3 separate regions of the Homo sapiens genome follow, and regions 2 and 3 are each linked to region 1. The links are contacts of gene promoters, found by promoter capture Hi-C in human tissues and cell types (Jung and others, 2019). All regions are on one chromosome and are shown on one strand. The core of a region is centred on a gene start or on the middle of the fragment in contact, and the rest is flanking DNA. Distances in the headings are between cores, read along the strand shown.

Region 1 (4,427 bases), core at 1,284-3,783:
TGTGACTGAAAGCAAATAAACTTCCTAAGACCTCAGTAGTTTTTGGTTGTCCTATCTGTAAAATTGGTCAATAACCTTCAGAACAGAAGTCTGGTCCAGATATATATATATATCTTTTCCAGATCACTAATGTTTGTATCTAGATGTGCTTCAACCAAAGAGATGTTCTCCTTAAGTAAAATGTTTCTTATGAAGCAAATCACTTTCTCATTGATTTATTAGTTTCTAAGTTATTACCAATGTAACATTTTGAGGCTGGGCATGGTGGCTTACGCCTGTAATCCCAACATTTTGGGAGGCTGAGGCAGGCAGATCACTTCAGGTCAGGAGTTTGAGACCAGCCTGGCCAACATGGCAAAACCCTGTCTCTATTAAAAGACAAAAGTTAGTCGGGTGTGGTGGCACATGCCTGTGATTCCAGCTACTTGGGAGGCTGAGGCATGAGAATCGCTTGAACCCGGGAGGCAGAGGTTGCAGTGAGCTGAGATTGTGCCACTGCACTCCAGCCTGGCTACACAGTGAGACTCCGTCTCAAAACAACAAAAATAACATTTTGATACCAATGGTAATGGAATTCTTCTTTGCTAAGATTTCTCTTGGCCCCTGATTTTTCATTAGAAGTCAAATATTGTGAAAACATTCGATGCAAGGACCTGGGACACAGTGGGCTATGTCCAAGGGTATCAACGATCAAGATAAGTTTTTCCTACTGTTTTTGTTCCAGTTCAGATACTGCTTTATGGCTTCACTCCTTTGGGTTTTTTGCCCCCCCGCTCCTTTTTTTTTTTTTTTTTTCTGAATCCAGTCCCTCCCTTTGGAGGGGCTGAATTTCTTCTTAGCTTGCCTTTCATCAAGTAGATCCATTTGGAGAGGAGAAAGCCATTAGTCCTGTCCCATGATTCCACATAATCTGAATGAGGCCAGGCATTGGTGCCCGCGCCTGTAATCCCAGCACTTTGGGAGGCTGAGGTGGAAGAATTGCTTTAACCCAGGAGTTTGAGACCAGCCTGGGCAACATCGTGGGACCCCACCCTGTCTACAAAAATCAAAATTAGCCAGTTGTGGTGGTGTGCACCTGTGGTCCCAGCTGTCTGGGGAGGCTGAGGCAGGAGGATCCCTTGAGCCTGGGAAGTCATGGCTGCAGTGAGCCATGATTGTGCCACTGCACTCCATCCTGGGTGACAGAGTGAGGCCCTGTCTCCAAAAAAAAAAAAAAATCAGTTACACTACCCAATTGCCTAGTCTTGGAGCCTGATAATTGATGCCTTCTCCCTAACCCCAATCTAATCTGTCACCAGTTTCTGTTTTGCCTCCTATGAATTTATCCTCTTTGCTTTGTTTCCACACATTCTAGTTCAAGTATCTCTCTTGTGGCCCTGCAGTGGGTCTCTTATCTGGTCTCACCCATTCTGGCATCTCTCCTATCTATTCATACTGCAGGCAGAGGAAGCATTTAGAAAAATACACTTCTTATATTACCCACTTAAAATCCTTTGGTGATGTCTTAATCTGGTCAAAGACAGCTGGCTCATAAGGGGAAACTAGGACCAAATCCTTTTTCCTTCAACCAATTAGACCCTCACACAGAAAACTTAAACTTAGCATATATGAGTAAGACAAAAAAACTTCAGATCCAGTGGGGAGGAAAAGCAGATGGCTCCTAGTCCAAGGGACAGAATGGGTCACAGCTCCTAACAGGGCTGACTGCAGCCTTGGGTAGTGGGGGTGTTAGATTGTGGCATACGGGTGGCATATATGGGTCCCTAGTCAAGGACAGAGCAGTGGTTTTATCAAGGGGTATAACCCTTGTATAAGGTGTAACCCGAGTGAGTATCCTATTATGTCAACACGGCTCCAGAAAGTTGTTCAGTCATTTTCATAGTGAGTGCATAAGAGTGACTTTTCTGTACTCTATTATTCAGGTCCACATAACTTACCTGGATCAAGAGGAGACAGGTAGAGACCCCCACGAGTGTGGCAGCGGGTTAGGGAGGGAGGTGGTTCTGGGTGTACCAAGATAGAGCTCCCGTGGAAGAGGAAGGCACGGCCCGTAGTGGCTCTAATCGGGAGAGAAGAGGGAAAGGAGGGACGTCGCTGCCCGAGGGAGTAGTTAATGGAGGAAGCAAGAGGTGCCAGGTACTATTCAAGTAGCTAAGGGGGAAATGACGACTTCTGAGATTGGGTTGTCTAGTAAAGTATGACTTCTTAGTTAAACCTCGAGAGTGGACAAGTGGTAGAGGAAGGGAGGGGTGAAGGCAAAGAACGCTACTCAGTAACGCTCGGTTCAGCAGTGGTGCTGTGGACTGGAAAACAGCTACCGAAGAAAGGCAGGGGATTATTTTTCCTCGTGCATCCCGGCCCAGGAGGCCGCGCCCTTGGGAAAGCGGGTCTCCAGAAGGGCCTAGCTTTCCGTCAGCGGCGGTGCAGACAGAGGACAACACGGCGCGGTAGCTGCACCGCCTCGGCGGAAATCCCGGGCGAAGGGGTGGGGCGGAGCCGGGAAATCCGGGGCTTCCGGCGCGGCCAGGGCCCAACTTCCGGCGTCCGTCGGGCAGCAGCGGGGCTGTCTATCCCGGCTGAGGACCCGCGGCCAGTGCGGGTGGCTGGCTTTGCCATTAGCGGGGGCCTTTCCTGAGGACGGCGTACGGAGTGTGGGTGAGAAGCCGCTGTAGGACTGAAGAGGAAGAAGCGCAATTGGGGCCGGGAGGCTGCAGATTTTGTGACAGGGTTCGGGAACTACTAGTGGCGCCCCCAGGCCGCCCCTCCTCTCGAGCCGGGCCGTGCGCTCTTGCTCTGTGCGCATTCCCTGTTTTCCGCGTCGGAACCGCCCTCTTTGCAGTGGCCCCGCGCGTGCGCATAGCTGGGCGCGAGGCGCGCTGTGGGTCTCTGCGGGGCGGATCGTGAAGCTAGTGTGTCAGTCATTCCTCGAAGCGTGCTCTTGGGCTGTATTTTGGAGCTAGCGTCCCTCCTGGTCAGTTTGGCGTTTTTAAGGCCCTGGTACTTGGTTTAGAACCGAGTGCAGTGACCAGTCTTGAGGCCCCTTCCCAGCCAAGAGATGGGGGGATGGAAGTTGAGTTGGTGCTGAAAGAGTTTGTTGTTGGGGCCTTCCAGCTGTGGACACCGGGATTCATGAGTTAATTCACGATCTTTATTGAACGCCTAAATAACCCAGTGGGAAAGGCAACACAGTCCCTTATGCACAGAGCTTAACAGTTTAGTAGGAGAGGCGCGGGCTGGTAACCAGGACAGTGGTAAATGTAGTAGGACCACAGGTGGCTCCTAGCCTAACTCTGGGAGAAAAGGAGTTGGACCCAGAGGAGGCACGCCAGAGGAAGTGATGGTTATCAGAGACTGAGGGCTAAAGGGATTGGCCAGGAGATGAGGGTGTAGAGGGGCCCGAGTAGTTGCAGACAAAAGTCCCGCAACGAGGGAGGCAAAGTGTAGAGCTCTTGGCCGCCTGCAGTACCATGGAACTTGGGTGCTAGTAGAGACAAATGTGTTGGAGAGGGTAAACCAGGACTCTGTCCACCAGTGTTCATTGTTCAGACTTTATCCAGAGGTCAGCGGGGAGTCACTGGAAGAGTTTTAACTGGGGAGTGGCTGAATAATACCGTCATTTATTGAATGCCTACAGTGGTTCCAGAAAAGTCTGGAACCATATAGGGAAGGAAAGAAAATTTGTACTTCCCAGGGGTTTTAGGAGGCATGTTTTGTAGCGCCCCAATTTCCCAAGGGAAAATTTGTATTAAAATCTCTTGTTGTAAGTATGCAAGTTTTGAATAATATGCCATAATATATATTTAGATGTGTTTTCTCAAATCCTCAAGTTATACTAATGCTTTAGAACTTTGCATCATGTGTATCCTGTGATTTTTGTAGCCCTTGATATATCCATAATGTTCCCTCCTTGCTTCTCTCTCCCAGCCCTCCACATACATAACCCAACCTTTCTCTGAGCGGGACACAATTCACAATTCTTTATAGGTATTACTTTCTTTAATCCTCTTATCAACCATTAGAGTTGTGTTATTATTTCTACATTAGCAATGAAGAAACTGAGGCAAAAAGGTTAAGAAGGTTGCCCAGGTTCACCCAGCTAGTGAGTGGAGATGTATACCCAGGCTATAAATTTATACAACTCCTTTGTTCTTGTCCTTAACCACTGCACTGTTGCATTGTAGGGAATAATTTAGGGCTGGTAATAGGAGATGCAAAGTAGAGAGGACAATTAAGAAGTTGTTTAAATAGTCTAGATGAGAGTTGATTTCCAACTTCAAAAAGGTAGTTTTAAAAACGATGAAGAGAAGTAAGTGGATATAAGACTGTAAAGGAAGTAGAACTGACATAATTTGGTGTCTGGATTGATGGTGCTGCCAACCACTCATAAGGATGGCTGGGAAAGAGCACCTTTGAGGGTGAAAGGACTT
Region 2 (4,491 bases), core at 858-3,357, 42 kb after region 1:
TTGTAGAAACCCCACTTGCAGAGCCAGACTAAGCAAAAGCCTTTAACTCCATGGCTAGGAAGCTTATTTATTTGTCTCTTAGACCACTGGATCCAGAAAGTAGGTCATATAGTAATATTTAGTCATTAACTTACCTGTAAGATCAAATAGAAACCTTGTGAAGGAGTTTATACTAACGATATTTAAGCTTGGGAAGAAAACTGGCAGTAGAGCTTGCTGCGGGGACCATGCTATGGACAGGTGCCTTCAGGGTGCTAACGAGAGTGAGGTATATATTAATTACCTTTGTACATTTGATGCTGGCTCCCTTCCTGTAAGAAGTTATAATCAGTAAGATAAGACAGGAAGCGTCTTCTCCACCATGATGCAAAGATGTGGAAAAGAGGGTTTTTCAGGCTTTGTGTTTGTCTGGCAAAGCCTCTTAAAGTAGTTGTAGAAAACAGTAGGTCTCTTGTTGAAAGAGCTGAGTTTAGGCAGAGAAAACTGGGAAAAGCAGAAGAATCAACAATAGAGACCACAAAGGGATGAGAGAGCAAGGAGAAAGGTGAAGGGCAGAGGCAGCCCTGGTGGCTACAGGGCAGGAGCTGCGTTCTGCATTTCCTCCCTCCCCTCTCTTCTTCCCTCCATTCATTCTTTAAAAAGATATTTATAGGATAGTTACTATGTGCTAGTCACTATGTTAGGTACTTGGAATACATTGGGACATGTAACAGATATAGCCCCTGTCTCAAATAACTTAGTCTTCTTAAATGTGAGACAGATGTTAAACAAATAAATGCATAATTACAAATTGTTGTAAATGTTGTGGAGGCAAAGAACAAGGTGAATAACAGGGAGGGGGTTTAATTTGGATGGGAAGGTGGGGTCTGACCTGAAGCATGAAGGAGGTAGTCAGGTGAGAATAATGGAATGACAAGGGAATGGCACGTGTGTAGGCCCTCAGAAAAGCAGGTCCAGTCTGGGACTGCAGCCTGGTGAGCCAGTAGCACATGCTTAGGTGAGAGGGTCACTGGGGCTGCATGACAAAGGGCTTGGTAAGCAGCAGTAGAGATTTTGGATTCTTTCTGAAGGGCACTGGGACCCATTAAAGGGTCTTTAAATAGGGACTGTGCACCTTCTGACTTGTAAAAGCTCTTTGTGACCACTGTGGAATGGTTCCTCTGCTGTGTTGAGGTGTTAAATTGTGTGCCAGGTGCTAGAACAGCAGGCCATCTTGAATTCCACGGTTGGGAGAGTCAGGCAGTGAGCCTGCTGCTTGATGCCAAGTGGCCTGTCCTGCCTGGCCCCTGGCCTGCGAGCATCCATCACTCTTTTCCTCCCCAACCCAGGGCGTTCTCATCTGCTGGGCTCCCGGGCTGCCTGGATCCCTGCGTGGCAGCAGCACATCCTGTTCCCAGTTGCCTTTGGGAGCGGATGAGTCCTCTGCCCTCTGGGGTCTGGGCTTCCATTTTAAAGCATTAATTTAATCACCAATCTATCTTTAGAGCTGAGGGTAGGGGAAAGAAAATGATTTCATCAGCTGTGAACATGTGAAGGGAATCTTAGCTGTCAGACGATCCAGTACCTGTGGCTGTCCATTGTGAATGACCAGAGGGCCTGGGGAAAGGCTGAATGTGACATTTCTTTGAATTGCCTCATTTACATCCTGAAGCCTCAATAAAAGGTGATTTGGGAGATGTGCAGCCCCTGATTCTGTCTTAACTGTAAGGGTGGTGCTGTGATGACCCAGGTGCTCATGGGGTATGATTAATTTAGCATTCTGGTGGCAGCCTGTGTTTACTGGCTTTACTTTCATTTCAGGGAAATATCGAGCATCAGATGAAGAAAAAATTAATCCACCTCCTTACTTAACTTGTGAGAGTTTCCCTCATGCTGTGGACCACATTCTGCAGCACCTATTGTGAAGCAGTGTGTGCATCTGAAGCAACTTGAAATGCAGCTTCTTATTGTCTGGAATGAATCCCTTACCAACTCAGTGCCAGCATCGGTAGACACCAGTCAGTGCTGATCGCTTTTTAACCCTCTTTTGTTGTGCATTAATTAGAAAGAAAGGTATTGAATTGCGGCTAGCCAGTAAGCCTTGCTAATCTCTTTTATTTTGTAACTGAAGATGAGACCCAAAGAAAGGGAAAGCTGAGATTTTGTGCCATTCCTTTTAAAATATTCATCAGGTTAGGTGGGGCTGTGGGGGAAAAGCTACTACAGGGAAGAGTGTTCTCTGCTGTCTCTTCACTGGAAAACAGGGAGGGGGGATTTCAGACTGTGAAGAAAGTTGAATGGTGGTTTTTAAATTATAAAGTAATGTATTAAAAGGTGCATTAGGCTGTAGTTCTAATATTGAGTTCAACTGTGAAATCCATCAGATGTGCCAAATGGAGAAGACAGAAAGCAACAAAGTGAATTGTTCTTTAGCCCAAGTGGTACAGTGAATTTGCTTTAACAGATGTTGAAAACTAAATTTTCTACTGTATTCCCAGCACGGGTGACTTCTTTTTCTCTTCATTAGCCAGAGATGACTAATTTAAATTTAGAACCAGATTTTAATTTAAATTAATATTTCCATTAATAACCTATTCATTGCAGATACCTATTATACTGTGTAACAGTTGTTTTGGAAATTTTATGTAAAATTAAAACTATCAGTATTTTACAGATGTTTTAATTAGACATTGTTATTAACAGGAACAGTGCAGAAACTAGAATCAAGCCTTATAATATCTTATAGACCATGCATTTTTGAAGTTAGTGTCCACTAGGGTCCTATTAACTGTACATTTGCAAGATTTCATTATTTTTGCCTCTGACACTATGGGAAAAATTTTTTAGAAGCTATTGGGACAGATTCAAGCTTTTATGCACTTGGTTACTACAGCTGTAAAATGAAATCTCGTCTTGTAGCATGGATTATTCTTCTCATGTTAAACCCACCAAAATAAAGGGGACTAAATAGGTAATGATTTTCCTAGTGCATTTGCATACTGTGATAATCCTGGGCCTTGCAATAGTTCTACAGGGCTCTTGGGCATTGAATTATTAGGATGTAATTGTACATCATTGTAGTGTTCACCTTATTGAAGCTCACTCTGATGTTAATGAGCTTCGGGTTTTGATGCTTGTTTAGAGATCAGCAGTCTTGGATGGGAGGGAACAAAGCTAAATAAATGTTAGTTTGGTGAGCACTGTGTTTTTGTTTTTGCAAATGCCTCATCTTAGTACTTCTATATCCCAGAGTGCAAAAGACAGATGTGATATGACTACCACCCCAAATCAGAAGGATGAGCGGAGTGGCTAAGAGTATACTCTGGATCCTGGTAACACAAAATTAGCTCTCTGGCCTTGGGCAAGTCACCTCACCTCTCATGCCTTCTTTCCTTATCTATAAAATGGGGATAATGATAGTGCCCACCACATACGGTTGGTGTGAGCATTACGTGCATGAACTATATATTAAGTACTTAGAATATCATTGGGCAAATGATGAGTGCTGTGCGTTTGTGATGATGATGATGATGAAGCAGGACTCTCCACATTTAACAGTCTGAAAAAGGTTGGTAGAATTTATCTTTACATTTATCTCAGTGGAGAAAGTCTTCCTAAGGATTAAAAAAAAGGATATTCTTTACTACATTTAGACTTCCTCAGAGCAAAGCTGCACAGAGAGAGAGCTCAGCCTGTGGGTAGAGAGCTCTGCGTGGTGCCTGGTGGGTGGGCTGCCTTCAATTTTGCCCTGTTGCTTGGGCACCTGGGTCAGTGATGCCTTGGCCCAAGCATTATCAAGTGTTTGCTAGTTGCTGTGCACTGAGTGCCCTGATTATGGTGGGAAATAAGCATATTAAGAAAAAGATTTTGCCTCAAGGATCCTTTTCAGTTGAAGAGCTAAGGAAAAGAATACACACAGAGGCGTTCCTGTCCTCTGATGTCGTCCCTGACTTCAGGATGGGGCAAGGTGTCCCCTCCTTCATGTCCGTGTGGCACTTGAAGAGTGTACTTATGTCTTCACATGCTCTTCTCCCCACTAGACAGGGCTGCATCTCATTTTTTTAAATTTTAATTTTGCTACCCAGTTAAATTTGAGTTTCATCATTCTTTCCTATATCTGCTGCAACACAGGTAAGCACTCAAATGGTTACTGAACCAATAAAAACTAAATATCTTAGGAATGTAATGCTAGAAAGCATAGCTTTGAGTGGGCAGGAGAAAATGTTCATTTTAGACTTGTTGTCTTAAAGTTGCCCATAGGGGAGGCCCCATTAAATAAACACTTGGAAGTAATGGATCAGATGCTCTGGAGACAGGTTAGAGCTAAAGCCAAGAAGGGAACATCATTGATGGGTCAGGAAGTGAAGAGGGTAAAAGTCTCCTGAGCATGATGGACTCAGCCGGGAGAAATGGCTTCTCTCCATTCTTCCATTCCACTTAATCCCTGTGAGCCCTGAAAATCTTAGTTTGAGATCTTTAACAAGCATTATATAGGACTTGCTAACTGACCGG
Region 3 (5,041 bases), core at 673-3,172, 44 kb before region 1:
TTGTAATATCTAATGTTCGGGGAGGGATCTAGTGGGAGGTAATTGGATCACGGCGGCAGATTTCCTCCTTGCTGTTCTCATGGTAGTGAGTTCTCATGAGATCTGGTTGTTTGAAAGTGTGTAGCACTTCCCCCTTCACTCTCTCTCTCTCCTGCCATCTATGTAAACATGTGCCTGCTTCCTCTTCACTTTCTGCAATGATTTTAAGTTTTCTGAGGCCTCTGCAGCCATGCTTCCTGTACAGCCTGTGGAACTGTGAATCAATTAAACCTCTTTTGTTTATAAATTACTCAGTCTTGGGTATGTCTTTATAGCAGTGTGACAATGGACTAATACAGTGGATTATTTTTTCATGTTGAAGAATTCTCTTTAGCATTTCTTGTAAGACAGGTCTGGTGGTAGTAAATTCTTTCAGCTTTTGCTTGGGAAAGAATTAATCTTTTATATTGAAAAGATAGCTTTGCTGGATATGGTATTCTTAAATGGCAATTTTTTATGTTTAAGCACTTTGAAAATGCCAAGCCACTCCCTCCAGGCCTATGTGGCTTCCATTGAGAAGTCTGCTGCCAGATGAAATAGAGCTCCTTTACATGTTATTTGCTTCTTTTCAATCATTGCTTTTGGCATCCTCCTTTGTCCTTGACTTTTGAGACTTTGATTATTACATTGGGATAGTCTTACTTGGGTCAAAACTGTTTGTTATTCTCTGACCTTCCTGTGCCTGGACATTTATATCTTTCTCAAGTTTTGAAAAGTTTTCTATTACTATTTCCTTGGGTAAACTTTCTGCTCCCTGCTCTTGCACAACTCCCTCTGGAACACCAATCATTCTTACATTTGAAGTCTTTTGAGGTAATTTTCTATATCTTGTAGGCAATCTTCATTTCTTTTCATTCTTTTTTCACCTCTATGTATTTTCATATGGCCTATTTTTGAGCTCACTGATTCTTTCCTCTGCTTGATCAATTCTGCTGTTTCCTCCTACACCTTCCTCTTTTGTTTTTCTGCCTCCTCTTTGTCTTCCTCTTCAACTTCCTCTCCTTCTTCTGCAACCCCCTCTCCTCTTTGTCTTCTTCATCTGGAACATTGAAGCTAATCCATTCTGGAAAGAGCTACTCCCCTTAGTTCCCCTTCATGATCCATAAAGGAAAGCTTAGAGCCTCTCATTCTATGAATTTAGGGGTCTTTGTATCTTTCAGCCACAAAGATGACCTCATGATGATGGCTTCTTCCTCTGAGGGTCCCAGGGCTCTTCACTAAACGTCATCTCCATTTCTGCACATTCCCGCACAATAGTATCATGTGAAGTGGGTTGTTAGAAGCAGCAAATGGGAAATGATTAGGTTATCAATTTTTTCAAGCCACAAGAGCCCAAAATGGAGCTGTCAGCACTAGTAAAGAATAGTTGGCTGAGCATGGTGGCTCACACCTGTAATCCCAGCACTTTGGGAGGCCGAGGCGGGTGGATCACGAGGTCAAGAGATCAAGACCATCCTGACTAACATGGTGAAACCTCATCTCTACTAAAAATACAATAACAAAATTAGCGTGGCTGCGGGTGCCTGTAGTCCCAGCTACTCGGGAGGCTGAGGTAAGAGAACAGCATGAACCCAGGAGGCGGAGCTTGCAGTGAGCTGAGATTGCGCCACTGCACTCCAGCCTGGGCGACAGAGCAAGACTCCATCTTAAAACAAAACAAAACAAAACAAAACAAAACAAAACAAATAAAAAAACAGAATAGTTGTTTTGCTACAAAGAGAAAGACCTTCCTCAAAGCAGATACTAAAGAAATCCAGATAAATGCCCCTAAAGTGTCACCTCTTCAACTAATGACAATCCTCAAGCAAACCCAGACTTGTAGTCATTCACCATGCATTAGGAAAGATTTTCAATGAGTAAGATTCTGAAACTGTGCCATCTTACCAATAACCCTTCTCTGAAATGCTAAAGGCAGCTCTACAGGATGGCATAACTGTGGTTCTGCTTAGGGTCATGGAACAGACAGACCTCCCTACAGATCCTTTCAGGAAGAATCACGAATAATAACTACCATTTATTAAGAACTTACCAAGTATCAAGTACTAAATACTTTATTATATAATACAATAACCCCATAAGATAGGGATTCTTACAACCATTTTACAGATCAGGAAAGTGGGTATCAGAGGGTTCAAGTGATGTGTTCAATAAATAAAATGAATAGTCCACCTGGGATTTGAACCTAAGGCTCTTTGATTCCCAAACTCATGCTGTGAATCAGTAAGCCAGGCAATAAAGAAGCCTAAGTGAGTGAGTACAACAGAGTGAGTGAGTGTCGGATAGCACTAGTAGGCAATGCTTCATGGAGGAGGTGAGATTTAATCTGTACCAATAAGACTTTGATTAGCAAGGAGGAGGGTAAAACCATTCATGAGTATTCATCTCTTCCGTTACTACACAAAGTGTATTTTTAGGTATGGATACTGTGGTCATTGTCATGTTATACTATTGGCAAGGCTATTTCTCTGTAAGTGAAGGAGCAAGATTTCATCTGAAGTGTAAAATATTGGATTATTTCTTCAATAAACAACTGAATGACAGCTAGGTGCCAGGAATGGTGCAAGGTACTGGGCTTAGGAAAGCTTACATTCAAGATACATGCTGTGCAGTGAAGAATACAAATATTTATGATGCAGCAGGAGTGCTGTGGTAGAGATAGACAGAAGATGCTTTGGAAACATAAAGAACATCTGACGTGGACTGGAGGATGAGGAAAGGCTTCTTTCTAACATCTTATTTTCATCCTTCTTGGTACACTTTGGCTAGAGGGGGTGATACATGGACTGAACATTTGGTCAAATAAAGTGTGAGTGCAGGGGAATGGGTGGCAAAGATGGGGGAAGGAGGCTCTAGCCAAAGGAAGCTATATCACATTAGGGTACTCCCATGGGATTTAGTTAACTATTGCTGAAATAAATCACTGTAAACCTTAGTGGCTTAAAACAATGATGTATTAATTTTCATGAGTCTGTAGGCAGATTGGGCAGTTCTGTTGGTCCCACTGGGCTCACTCCTGGCAGGTGGGTGGGAAGTGGGCTACGCTGAGACAACTGGGATAACTGGGACTCTCTTTCCATGGTCTTTCATTCTGGGTTTTCTCATGTCATGGGGGTGCCAGGGCAGCATTCCAAGAGCAAAGGCAGATGCTATAAGGCCTCTTGAGGTTTAGGTTCCAGAATTTGCACAACATCACTGCATCTGCATTCTATTGATGAAAACAAGTGCCAAGGCCAGCTCAGATTCAGAGTGGAAAGAGGAGCTGCAAAGAAGTTGTGGCCATATTTAATCTCCCATACATGTCACACCATGTCATCACCTCTGAAATGCTACATTCAAATATCCTACTTTCTAATCCCAATCACCCATTCTTTCTGCATTTTCATCCACCTCTTCAAGACTTCCAGTCCCCGATCTCTCCCTCTTCTCAGCTTCTTTCTAACTTTTCTTTTCTGCCAATGCAAGTAGTTGATCTTCTGAGCTCTCCTCTTACCTGACCCCATCATTCCTACCCAGGGGGTGGGGGTGGAGGTTAGGCAGGACTGAAATCACACAGTCAAGAAGAAATCACACAAGCTACATGAATTGGCAGATTGGTCTCATCTACTCTCACACCTCAGCTCTCAGCTTCACCTGTCAATGTTTTCACCTGTTTCAGGTCAGTTCTTCTCCATCTAAAGCTAGTCCAAAACAGTGCTCTACAATCTCCTTTCTCAAGCCTAGGCCCTCATTCTCAGCAGACAGTGCTATCCCCTACTTGACTACTGAGACAAAAGTTATCAGACTTGACCTCTGAACTTCTTGTTCTCACCTACAGAAGTATCTACCTCACCTTTTCCCTTCAGTCTCAAAAGATGACTTTTCTCCTTGTCCGATTGAAATATTAAACCCTCTGCTGTGCCCTTGGCCCTAGACCTGCATTTGAATTCAGGGAATCTGAATTGAAGACATATAGAGTGAGTAACTGGTGGCGGGAGGGCAGAAACCAAGACACAAAGAGAAAGAAGCAATAGGCAGAAGCCATGAGGCAAGAAGAGTAACTAATAAGCAGCAACTGAGAGGAAGCAGAGGCTGTGAGTCATCTGAAGCAACAAGGCAAACAGGAGTCAAGAGAAGGTGATTGCCAGAGCCTGGCCTAGTCAAAACAGAGACAAGCAACACCAAAGTCAGTAGAAATGGCATACACAACCAGAGGGAGCTACAGACCCATGGCCGGGCTGGAAGCTCACTGGCTATGTCACTTCCCAAGCTCCATTCCTGCTTTGTGAGCCCCATTCTGTGGTGTTCCTGGGTCCTTGTGAGGTCTGGATATACAGGCAAGATTTCTGTTTTTATTGTTGTCATAAATATTTTTGAATCAACTCCCATTGCTTGAAGTAACCTGAATAGACCTTTACAAATAAATGCTTAACACACCATCTGTGGTCTCACTTTTTTTTTTTTTTTGAGAGGGGGTCTCGCTCTGTTGCCCAGGCTGGAATACAGTGGTGCGATCTCGGCTCACTGCAAGCTCCACCTCCCAGGTTCATGCCATTCTCCTGCCTCAGCCTCCCGAGTAGCTGGGACTACAGGCGCCCGCCACCCCGCCTGGCTAATTTTTTGTATTTTTAGTAGAGATGGGGTTTCACCATGTTAGCCAGGATGGTCTCCATCTCCTGACCTCGTGATTCACGCCTCTGCCTCCCAAAGTGCTAGGATTACAGGCGTGAGCCACCGTGCCTGGCCTGTGGTCTCACTTTTACTTAGGCTATGTCTGAAGCCAGAAGAGAAAAAAATCTGTGTTTCCTGCTCAGGGAAAAGTATATTAGAAGAAAATCGTGTGGTTTTTCTATTACTTAGAAAATACAAAGCTCTTCCATAATATAACAGGTTTTCAGGGTCCTCAGAGTCCCCAAATTCTAACATCTATAAACATCCTTCTTAATATGCTTTGGTTTCTTCCTCTACTCTCAAACCCCAACTATTTTTCCTGAGTGCATACATGGTTACCTCAACAAAGATGAAT

Evidence for each region. Contacts are between HindIII fragments. The study calls those that stand out against the background at their distance.
Region 2: a fragment that was not itself captured here is called in contact with the fragment with the promoter of HDHD2 in region 1 in 1 of the 25 tissues and cell types used here (H1 embryonic stem cells).
Region 3: a fragment that was not itself captured here is called in contact with the fragment with the promoter of HDHD2 in region 1 in 1 of the 25 tissues and cell types used here (liver).

Annotation. Positions count from the first base shown.
Region 1 is chr18:47,148,606-47,153,032 of GRCh38, reverse strand. It overlaps HDHD2 (haloacid dehalogenase like hydrolase domain containing 2), which reads left to right and starts at 2,533. Exons shown (of 7, transcript NM_032124.5): 1 at 2,533-2,655. IER3IP1 (immediate early response 3 interacting protein 1) reads left to right here. Exons shown (of 3, transcript NM_016097.5): 3 at 1-199. RefSeq lists an enhancer at 3,065-3,124. The HindIII fragment of the contact is 18,750 bases long and covers 1-4,427 here.
Region 2 is chr18:47,106,095-47,110,585 of GRCh38, reverse strand. It overlaps HDHD2 (haloacid dehalogenase like hydrolase domain containing 2), which reads left to right. Exons shown (of 7, transcript NM_032124.5): 7 at 1,801-3,176. The coding sequence ends at 1,904. Among named protein-coding and RNA genes, the nearest start is that of HDHD2, 42 kb to the left of the region's middle. The HindIII fragment of the contact is 3,963 bases long and covers 126-4,088 here.
Region 3 is chr18:47,191,269-47,196,309 of GRCh38, reverse strand. No RefSeq gene overlaps it. Among named protein-coding and RNA genes, the nearest start is that of IER3IP1, 17 kb to the right of the region's middle. RefSeq lists an enhancer at 3,998-4,292. The HindIII fragment of the contact is 4,108 bases long and covers 1-3,976 here.